2 separate regions of the Homo sapiens genome follow, and region 1 is linked to region 2. The links are contacts of gene promoters, found by promoter capture Hi-C in blood cells and fetal thymus (Javierre and others, 2016). All regions are on one chromosome and are shown on one strand. The core of a region is centred on a gene start or on the middle of the fragment in contact, and the rest is flanking DNA. Distances in the headings are between cores, read along the strand shown. Region 1 holds the start of RUVBL1 (RuvB like AAA ATPase 1). Region 2 holds the start of RAB43 (RAB43, member RAS oncogene family).

Evidence for each region. The method cuts DNA at HindIII sites, captures the fragments that hold promoters and counts their contacts. A CHiCAGO score of 5 or more calls a contact.
Region 1: a contact is called between a fragment that was not itself captured here and the fragment with the promoter of RAB43 in region 2, in 1 of 17 cell types (total CD8 T cells). The highest score is 6.3, in total CD8 T cells.

What each region holds. Positions count from the first base shown.
Region 1 is chr3:128,123,442-128,128,352 of GRCh38, reverse strand. RUVBL1 (RuvB like AAA ATPase 1) reads left to right here and starts at 4,541. Exons shown (of 11, transcript NM_003707.3): 1 at 4,541-4,769. The coding sequence starts at 4,629. RefSeq lists a silencer at 4,490-4,549 and an enhancer at 4,740-4,789. The HindIII fragment of the contact is 5,560 bases long and covers 882-4,911 here.
Region 2 is chr3:129,120,176-129,125,389 of GRCh38, reverse strand. RAB43 (RAB43, member RAS oncogene family) reads left to right here and starts at 3,586. Exons shown (of 3, transcript NM_198490.3): 1 at 3,586-4,104. The coding sequence starts at 3,901. The region is part of intron 11 of ISY1-RAB43 (ISY1-RAB43 readthrough); the gene reads left to right. RefSeq lists silencers at 3,357-3,576, 3,597-3,776 and an enhancer at 4,557-5,214. The HindIII fragment of the contact is 2,447 bases long and covers 2,327-4,773 here.

The DNA of each region.
Region 1 (4,911 bases), core at 2,412-4,911, 1.0 Mb after region 2:
CACTGTTATTTTAGATCTCTCTGTTACTGCAGCTGAACTAATCTTTTAACTAATGTAACATTTACTGCTGGGTGCTATGGCTAATGCCTGTAATCCCAGCATTTTGGGAGGTCAAGGCAGGAGGATTGCTTGAGTTCAGGAATTCAAGACCAGCTTAGCCAACACAGCAAGACCCCTGTCTTTACAAAAAAATAGAAAAAATTAGCTGGGTGTGGTGGCGCATGCCCAGCTACTCGGGAGGCTGAGATGGGAGGATCACTTGAAGCCCCCCAAAAAACTAACACAACGTTTATGTATTTATGTATGTATGTATGTATGTATGTATGTATGTATGTATGTATGTATTTATTATTTTTGAGACAGGGTCTCACTCTGTCGCCCAGGCTGGAGTGCAGTGGCGCAATCTCGGCTCACTGCAACCTCTGCCTTCTGGGTTCAAGCAATTCTTCTGCCTCAGCCTCCCGAGTAGCTGGGACTACAGGTGTGTGCTGCCATGCCTGGCTAATTTTTGTATTTTTAGTAGAGATGGGGTTTCACCATGTTGGCCAGGCTGGTCTCGAACTCCTGACCTCAAGTGATCTGCCCACCTCGGCCTCCCAAAGTGTTGGGATTACAGGCGTGAGCCACTGCACCTGGCCAAATAACAACATTTAATCATTACTTGGGTTGCTCCAGTTGAGGCTGGAGACCATGACTGTGCAGTGGTTACAGGGCACCACTGGGTAGTTGCATCCTGCCACACACAGTAGCCCTCAGGAGGCAGTGAAGAAGGCAGAGGGAGGCTTGACCTGGGCTTGTGGGTTCAAAGTTCAGGTGTGATAGAAGTCAAGGTAAGGAGGGAGCAGAAGGGTCAGGAAACAAGTGATTGAGATAATCAAGCTTGGGCTGGAGAAAGAGAGGTCAAAGGCCTGGAGGTGAAAGAGCAAAGGTCGTGGGAGTAAGGGAATGAGAGGGTCGTGGGAGTGAGGGAATGAGAGCTGGCAGGTCTAGGGCTGTCACAGCACAATTCTGGAATGTAGTAGTCCACACAATTACTTACATATGTGTCACTACATTGATATGGATTTTCAGTACCCACAGATAGAAATCTAACTCAAACATCTTAAGCCCCAAAGTAAATGCCATGTTACACTGCAAGTAAGGCGAGGATGATGCAGGGATATAAAGGATTTCATCGGGAATCTCTTTCTGTCAGCTTTCCTTTCCTCTGTCTTGGCTTCATTCTCAGGTAGAGTCTCCCCATGAAGTAACAAAGAAGACCAGCCTGCAGATCCATTACCTACATTTTCTCTCCTGATATGTCCAGTAAATTGCCAGGACTGACTGTCATTGAACTAGCTGCTCACATTTCTGAGCCAATTACAGTGTCTGAGAGGATGGGATACTGATAGGTCAGGCCAGGGCCACGTGTTTACCACTGAAACAAACATGGGGTGTGGGGTCAGTTCGCCCAAACTACGCAGACTCAAAGTGGGAGAACGGTCATTTCCTGAAGGAAAACGAGAGTGGTGGTGCGCAGAAGTGGGATGGACGCTGGTCAGGAATAACCCTGTCCACTGCAGCAGGCCTCACTTGCTGTTTATTGGACTTGTGTAGCTTGGATACTGGCCTGCCACATTGTTTTCTGTTGAAATGAAAGAAATTGTCTGACTTTGCAGCCAGGTCCAGCATCTTTACACACTGGATCTGTGTCAGGCATTTGCTCAATTTGTGACCTTGGACAAACCCTGTCCCTTCCTGGGGCCTCAGTTCCGTCACATGTAAAATGAGAATGCTAGGCCAGATCAATGACCTTTTTTTTTTTTTTTGAGATGAGTCTTGCTCTGTTGCCCAGGTTGGAGTGCAATGGCACGATCTCGGCTCACTGCAACCTCCACCTCCTGAGTTCAAGCGATTCTCGTGCCTCAGCCTCCTGAGTAGCTGGGGTTACAGGCGCCTGCCATCACGCCCAGGTAATTTTTGTATTTTTAGTAGAGATGGGGTTTTGCCATATTGGCCGGGCTGGTTTCGAACTCCTGACCTCAGGTGATCCACCTGCCTCGGCCTCCCAGAGTGCTGGGATTACAGGCGTGTACCACCGCCCCTGGCCCATCAGTGATGTTTGAACTGTTATTTAGCACACACACACACACACACACACACACACACACAAAGGAACAACTCTGGTGGAAGTGGGGGCATGGAGCTGGTATCCTACACTCTCAGCATTCCCTGTCCCCACCCGTACTGGCCACAAAAGGATTCCACAACTGCTGGGAATGTGGTTTGAAAACCACTAGACCAAGTAATCCAGGGGATATTCCTCTGTGCTCTAAAATCCTGATTCTCCCTTTCTCTTTTTGGACTAGAAGGAAATCCTTCTTTCTGTGCCAAAAGATACAAAGACTAGGGCTGAAATAATAAGTGTAAAAAAAGTCTTTTTCCTTAATTGGACAATACACAAAGAAGTCAGTCCCATAGAATGCCTCACTTTGACTACTAGTTGGTGGAAAAGTTTCCTTCTCCATATAGAGAAAGGAATTGCTTCTTTTCTAAGAGTAATGACCAGGAACAAGTCAATGAGGGGCTAAGCAACTTTGTGGGGTGCTGTCTCTAGTGCTGATGAACCACATGCCCTAGTAACAACCTCAGCCTTCCAAGGCCTGGCCTCTGTTCTTTTAGGCCCTGAAAATGCCAAAAGATTCCATTCACTGATGGAAATCATTACCAAGTCCTATAAAAGCCAACGTGTAAAATACATGCAGCAAAACTGATGAATTCAAGTGTATGTGTTTGTGTGTGGTCTAGAACCTTAATTGAATTCATGAGAAGCCTTAATTGTGAGCTGTGTTGTAGGCTGTGTGCCAGGCACTTAGGTTAAAATGGTAAACAATCAAATGTGGTCTACACCCTCAAAAGGCCTGCAGTTTACTGGGAGAGAAAAACATTGACCCAGTAATTATGCAAATCATTAGAAACCTAGATTCAAAAGAAAAGAAAAAAGTATATAGAAACCTAGATTCAAATGTTAGAATCAAGATGTACAAGGAGGTGTGAGAGGCCGGGCGCGGTGGCTCACGCTTGTAATCCCAGCACTTTGGGAGGCCGAGGCGGGCGGATCACGAGGTCAGGAGATTGAGACCATTCTGGCTAACACGGTGAAACCCCGTCTCTACTAAAAATACAAAAAAATTAGCCGGGCGTGATGGTGGGCGCCTGTAGTCCCAGCTACTCGGGAGGCTGAGGCAGGAGAATGGCGTGAACCCGGGAGGCGGAGCTTGCAGTGAGCCGAGATTGCGCCACTGCACTCCCGCCTGGGCCACAAAGCAAGACTCCGTCTCAAAAAAAAAAAAAAAAAAAAAAAAAAAGGCGGTGTGAGACTGTGGAACTACTGTAATTGGATTTGATTTCAGGTCTGTCTCAATTCTAACATAAACTCTCCTGCACTCTGGGCAAGTCCTTCCCTTCCTCTGGATGTTAGTATCCTCTTCTGTAAAAATGGTGTCATACCATTTGCTTCTGAGGAAATCTCTCCTATTTGTTGGAATTCAGCCAAGGCAACATCACCTTCATGATGCCTTCCCTGGCTCTCCAGGCTGTTCCGGGGGCTTCTGCTCTGGTCTTCTCGCCACCTGGGTGTACCTGTCTCAGCACATCTCACGTTGCAAGTTTTCTAAGCAAGAAGTAAACGCATCAAGACTTTTATCCCTGTATCCCCAGTGCATTGTGGTGTCTGGCTCGTGTTTGTTGAACGGATGGATGGATGGATGGCAAGTACAATTGTGGTGCAGGTTGTGCTAATATCATTATGAAACCTGAAGGGACAATTTGCTGGCTGATTGTCTCAGCTGGAGTCATGGGACGTGATGAGCATTATTATATAGGTTTTGAAGCCTGAAGATTTCTAGTTCTGATTATTTGTGATGCTTTCTTGGGCGGATGGGCCTCTTTCCGCTTGTTTGTAGCTGCATGCGTAATTACACTACCTTACAGGGCTGTGGAATTTTGAAAACTGCAAAATGTTATTTACAGTCAACTGAACTCAGCAGGAACCTTATCTCTCGGTGGAGGATGGAGGATAGAAGCAGGGGAAGACAATTCCACGGAAACGGTGGTGGGTTGAGCTGGGCCTTTCCAGGGAGATGCAAAGGTATGGGAGTCAGAAAACATTGGTTAGTAACCAATCCCAGTTTAAGCTCTGAACCTCAGTTCTTCTGTTTCCAAAACGGAAATAATAACTTGAGATTTGCGTAAGAGTATGACGTTCAAATGTGCTAATGGATAGGACGGAAGGATTAGGAGTGGTACCCGGGGGCCACTGCCTCGTGCAACGCCCCAGCCCTAGATCAAATCCGGGGCGTGGTCCCACTGTGCTCCCGACCCCAGCCTCGGCAGGAAGCGCCGGCTACGGGGGAAGCCAACCCGGAGACACAGACGGAAGTGGGTGACCGGAGCTCTAGCAGCAGCCGCGATGGGCGCAGCCGTGAGCCTATGGAGAGCGGAGGTGTTCCCGCTTCCACCAATGGAAAGCCGGTCTAGGCGGGCCTTTGCAAATTGCCCTAGTAACGGCCGCATGGTAACTCAGGCGCCGGGCGCACTGTCCTAGCTGCTGGTTTTCCACGCTGGTTTTAGCTCCCGGCGTCTGCAAAATGAAGATTGAGGAGGTGAAGAGCACTACGAAGACGCAGCGCATCGCCTCCCACAGCCACGTGAAAGGGCTGGGGCTGGACGAGAGCGGCTTGGCCAAGCAGGCGGCCTCAGGGCTTGTGGGCCAGGAGAACGCGCGAGAGGTGTGGCCAGTGGACCAGGGAGTTGGGGGCTGCAAGCAGGGCTGCTGCGGCGAGAGAGCTGCTGAAGTCGGTGGCTCGGGGCGGGATGCGCGCGCCAGGGGTCTCCCGCCATTATTTCCTCAGGGAAGTGAAAATGGGCCAG
Region 2 (5,214 bases), core at 2,337-4,836:
GCGCGGTGGCTCATGCCTGTAATCCCAGCAGTTTGGGAGGCTGAGGTGGGTGGATCACAAAGTCAGGAGATTGAGACCATCCTGGCTAACACAGTGAAACCCCGTCTCTACTAAAAATATAAAAAATTAGCCAGGCATGGTGGCTGGAGCCTGTAGTCCCAGCTACTCAGGAGGCTGAGGCAGGAGAATGGTGTGAACCCGGGAGGCGGAGGTTGCAGTGTGCAGAGATCGCGCCACTGCACTCCAGCCTGGGCAACAGAGTGAGACTGTGTCTCAAAAATAAAATAAAATAAATATGTTTCTTGGCCGGGCATGGTGGCTCATGCCTGTAATCCCAGCACTTTGGGAGGCCGAGGTGGGCGGGTCACCTGAGGTCAGGAGTTCAAGACCAGCCTGGCCAACACAGCAAAACACTGTCTCTACTAAAAATACGAAAATTAGTTGGGTGTGGTGGCACACGCCTGTAATCCCAGTTACTGGGGAGGCTGAGGCAGGAGAATTGCTTGAGGTTGCAGTGAGCCAAGATCAGGCCATTGCACTCCATCCTGGGCAACAAGAGTGAAACTCTGTCTCAAAAAAAAAGTTAAATTCTTGACCAATTTTTTTTTCTTTCTTTCTTTTTTTTTTTTTTTTTTGAGACAGAGTCTCGCTCTGTCGCCCAGGCTGGAGTGCAGTGGCATCATGTTGGCTCACTGCAAGCTCCACCTCCTGGGTTCACGCCATTCTCCTGCCTCAGCCTCTGAGTAGCTGGGACTACAGGCGCCGGCCAACACACCCGGCTAATTTTTTGTATTTTTAGTAGAGACGGAGTTTCACCATGTTAGCCAGGGTGGTCACGATCTCCTGACCTCGTGATCCGCCCATCTTAGCCTCCCAAAGTGCTGGGATTACAGGCGTGAGCCACCGTGCCCGGCAACTAAATTCTTGACCTATTTTAAAAATTTTGCAATATAGGCCGGGTGCGGTGGTTCACGACTGTAATCTCAGCACTTTGGGAGGCCGAGGTGGGTGGATCATGAGGTCAGGAGATCGAGACCATCCTGGCTAACACGGTGAAACCCCGTCTCTACTAAAAATACAAAAAATTAGCTGGGCATGGTGGCGGGCGCCTGTAGTCCCAGCTACTCGGGAGGCTGAGGCGGGAGAATGGCGTGAATCCGGGAGGCGGAGCTTGCAGTGAGCCGAGATCGCGCCACTGTACTCCAGCCTGGGTGACAGAGCGAGACTCCGTCTCAAAAAAAAAAAAAGTGCAATATACATTTTTTCAAATTTGGTGTATTAAATGAAACATAAATATTTTTTAATTGCTGCATTTCAAATTAGCATGATTCCATTTCAAATAAAATGCCACTGTGCTACTCAGGAATTTACCACCAAAAGAGGAAATGCAGATATTAGACAGCTTTATTGAGGTATAATTTACATACCATAAAACCCACAGGTTGTAAGTTTACATTTTAATGATTTTAATAAACTTGAGGAGTTGTGCAACCCTTACCACAGTCCAATTTTAGAATCACCCCGCAAAGGCAAGGGAGTGGTGCCTGGGTTTTCTGACAAAATCTATACTCAGACCAACATGTCCCCTGCCCCAGCCCAACCAGTTCCAGGCTAGAGCAGTGGAAAGGCCAGTTAGCTATCCAACCACCGTCTACCCCTACGCTTCATCCTGGCTCCTGGATTCCACACCATTTTGTGCTGTGGTAGCTGCTCTGAGCTGGGGGCAGGCCTTGTTTTCTGGAGTTCTGGACTTTGACCTGAGCTAGTCCCAGCATGCAGAAACCTTCCATCCCATCTCCTGTCTACTTCTACCCTGGAGTGGAGGTTATTTCCTGCCTCTCTAACTCTCCGCTCCCATCAGGTGTACCAAAGTGGGGCTCTCAATTGCTTTTCAGTGGCACTTTGGGGTTTCCTGTCTGATTCTGTTGGGTATTTCCCATGGGAGTGGAGTTCAAACTTTCAGAAGAAACAACTCTTCTGCCTTCTCCACGGGGTCTGCCTTTGCAGACTGCTCATTCAGTCCCTTTCTATCTTGACCTGAAAGGTTGGCTGGGGTCCTCACAGTGGCACTGGGGGACTTGCTCTCTGCGAAGTCTCCTTCAGCTTGAAGACTTTCCCCTTTTCTCCTGGATTTTTGTCTGCTTTGTCCACAGGTGCATTACAAGGCCCCAGGACAATGCCCGCCTGTAGTAGCCATTCATTAAATATGTTGAATACCTGGAATTGGAGTGCCACAAGGAAGCTGTCTAGAGGGGTAAGGGGTGCTGTCAATTCCTTCCCATCTTCGGAGCTGGGAAGCCCAGTCCTGTTGGATCTAGTATAAGCTTCTTACAGATGTTTGGGTCTCCTTTCTCTGAGGCGCCCTGGTTCACTGGGCCAACTCAGGAGTTGGTCTGCCCTTCCTCAGAAATCCCTTCAAGTTTTTCTGTTCCTCTTCCTAGACTGGTGCTTTTTGGCTGGGTCAGTTTCCCAAATGGGCCTGTAGCTGCTCTGAGCTGGGTCATCCAGCCGTTTAGCAGCTGCTTCAACCACTGCTAGGCTGCCTTTTGGAGACAAGAGCTCCCAGCTCCTCCTTCTGGCCTAGCTTCCCATCAAATGGGGCCCTGGGTCCTCTCCTCACAAGGATTTTGGGCTCCTCCGCAGTTTTGTAGCCAGCCTGGATTCTGGCCTTCTGCAGCCTGCTCCCTCCCTTCCCTTCCGCCCCTGGGAAGAGCGACCCCCACCACTCTCGGAGACTGCACTGCCCGCCTGTCAGAGTGGGCACTCAGGTGACACTGCTGTGGTCGTCCCCTTCCTCCGTGATCCATTCCGGAGGGGGTCATTCTTAGTCTAGGCCTGCAGGCCCGGAGCTCCAGCCATGGTCTCCGCCTGTCCCTGACCGGCGGTCTGGGAGGCAGCAGGTAGGGGATCCCGGGCAGGCGGACCAGGCCTGGGTGGGGGGCGAGCAGGAGGCGCGGGACAGCACCTGGGGGTCCCAGCTGATGAAGGGTCGGGGTGGGCAGCGGTTTGGGGGCCAGACGGATCCGCGGTGTGGGCGCGCCGGGGTGTTGATGGAGGAGGGGCCGAGGTGCTGAGGGCGGGGTCGGGCTGGGGTCGGGGCTGAGGGCGGAGTCGGGTGGGGCGGAGTCAGAGCTGAGGTGAGCCTGAGGGCGGAGTCGGGGCGGGCTGAGGTGGGCCTGTGGGCGGAGTCGGGGCGGTGTGCTGAGGTGGGCCTGAGGGCGGAGTCGAGGTCGGGCTGAAGGCGGAGTCGGGGAGGGCTGAGGTGGGCCTGAAGGCAGAGTCGAGGTCGGAGCTGGGGACGGAGTCGAGTTCGGGCTGAGGGCGGAGTCGGGGCGGGCTGAGGTGGTCCTGTGGGCGGAGTCGAGGTCGGGCTGAGGGCAGAGTCGGGTCGGAGTCGGGGCGCGCTGAGGTGGGCCTGGGGGCGGAGTCGAGGTCGGAGCTGAGGGCGGAGTCGGGGGCGGGGACGTAGGCGGAACCCGGGTCGGGCTGAGGTGGGCCCGAGGGTTGGGCTGGGGGCGGAGTGGGTGCCAGCCTGAGGGCGGAGCCGGGGGCGGGCGGGGGCGGGCTGGGGCGGGCCTACAGGCCAGACTGGTGTGGCACGGAGCTGAGGACCGGCCGGAGCTTTGCGGAGGGCCCGGCTTGGCGGGTCCGGGGGGGAGCCGAACCCGCGGGGCACCGGGTCCGGGCGGGGCCGAGCCGGGCCGGGGCGGGAGCCAGCCGGGGTGGGGCGGGGCCGAGGCCGAGGCAGGCGGTCGGCAGTGCTGGGGGTTCAGGTGTTGCGGCGGCTCCACGTAGCCAGGCGGCCCGTGGGCTGGAGCGGGCGGAGCTCGGCCCGCGGCTTGCGTGAGCTCAGGCCGGTCCCAGCGTCCAGAGCGCCGGCCCTTCGGCTTCTTCTAGGCCATGGCAGGGCCGGGCCCAGGCCCGGGGGACCCGGACGAGCAGTACGATTTCCTGTTCAAGCTGGTGCTGGTGGGCGACGCAAGCGTGGGCAAGACGTGCGTGGTGCAGCGCTTCAAGACCGGCGCCTTCTCGGAGCGCCAGGGAAGCACCATCGGCGTCGACTTCACCATGAAGACGCTGGAGATCCAGGGCAAGCGGGTCAAGGTGGGAGGCCGGCCAGGGCCCCTGGAAGGCGCTCCCTCGGAGGGTGGGGCGGGGGCAGCGGAGCCCCTGGCCGCGGCGAGCGCACCCCGCGTCCATCTGAAGTTTCCTTTGGCTTCCCCTTTTTCCTTCCTCGGGTCGGAGCAGGCCTGGGCCCCGGGGTCTGGGCCGGGTTCAAGTCCTCAAAGCGCCGGCCGTGGGTTGCTGGGGGGGGGGGGGGCGAGGGAGTGTGGAGGAGGCGGCCCTGCCCTCCGGAGCTCACACCCTAGGAGGGGACTGTGCTCCAAAATAACTTTAGCCATTGGAAGGCAGGGGGTTAGACTCCCCTGTTCCAGGTACTAGCGGAGCGCCTTGGAGTGCGGAGATCAGACCCCCCACCTCCATCCACCGCGATGGCAGCCCCCAGCTCAGCCCACCGGCGGGGCACTCAGCCAGAGAACTGCATCCCCACCCCAGGACTAGGAGCGATCAGGAAGTAGTTGCTTTTAGGACCAGAGGGCCAAAACTTTTTGTCAGAATTTCCGGCCTGGCCACGCCTCCCTGCAGTCTCTTTGTGGACCTGGTGGTGGAACTTTACTCGACTAGGGCCAGCCCCGGTTCCCTCCCCCAGCTGGAGTTTGATAGAAACTGAAAACTTCACAGATACCGGAAGGTGGGGGAGAGAACCAAGCTTTGGCAATGGCTCCGAATAAAAACAGCAGGATGTGGTTGCCACAATGTCCTGGCAGTGGTTTGATAAATATTTGTGATGAATGAAATCAGAGTTTCTTAACCTAGGTGTTAGTACTCCCTAATCAACCAGGAGATCCTGGGCTGAAGGCACTCAGTAACTTTTCTGAACCGCACTGTACAGAAATCTTTGCTTGCTTTCATGGTTTCGAGCCCCCATGATCTTCAGGACACCCTCAGGGCACAGGGCTGGGACGATCTCTGCCAGGGAGATGGGAGTCACTGGAGCCTTGCTGCTGCTGGGCTCTGCCTCTCCGGGTGGCTCTAGGCCTGCTCCTTGTTGCCTTTGGCTAGGATATGTAGCTCTTTGTCTTTGTTTCTATAAAATTGGGATAATTTCTGGGTGTTGCCTCCCTCCTGCCCCAAGGTGGAGAAAAAAGTAAG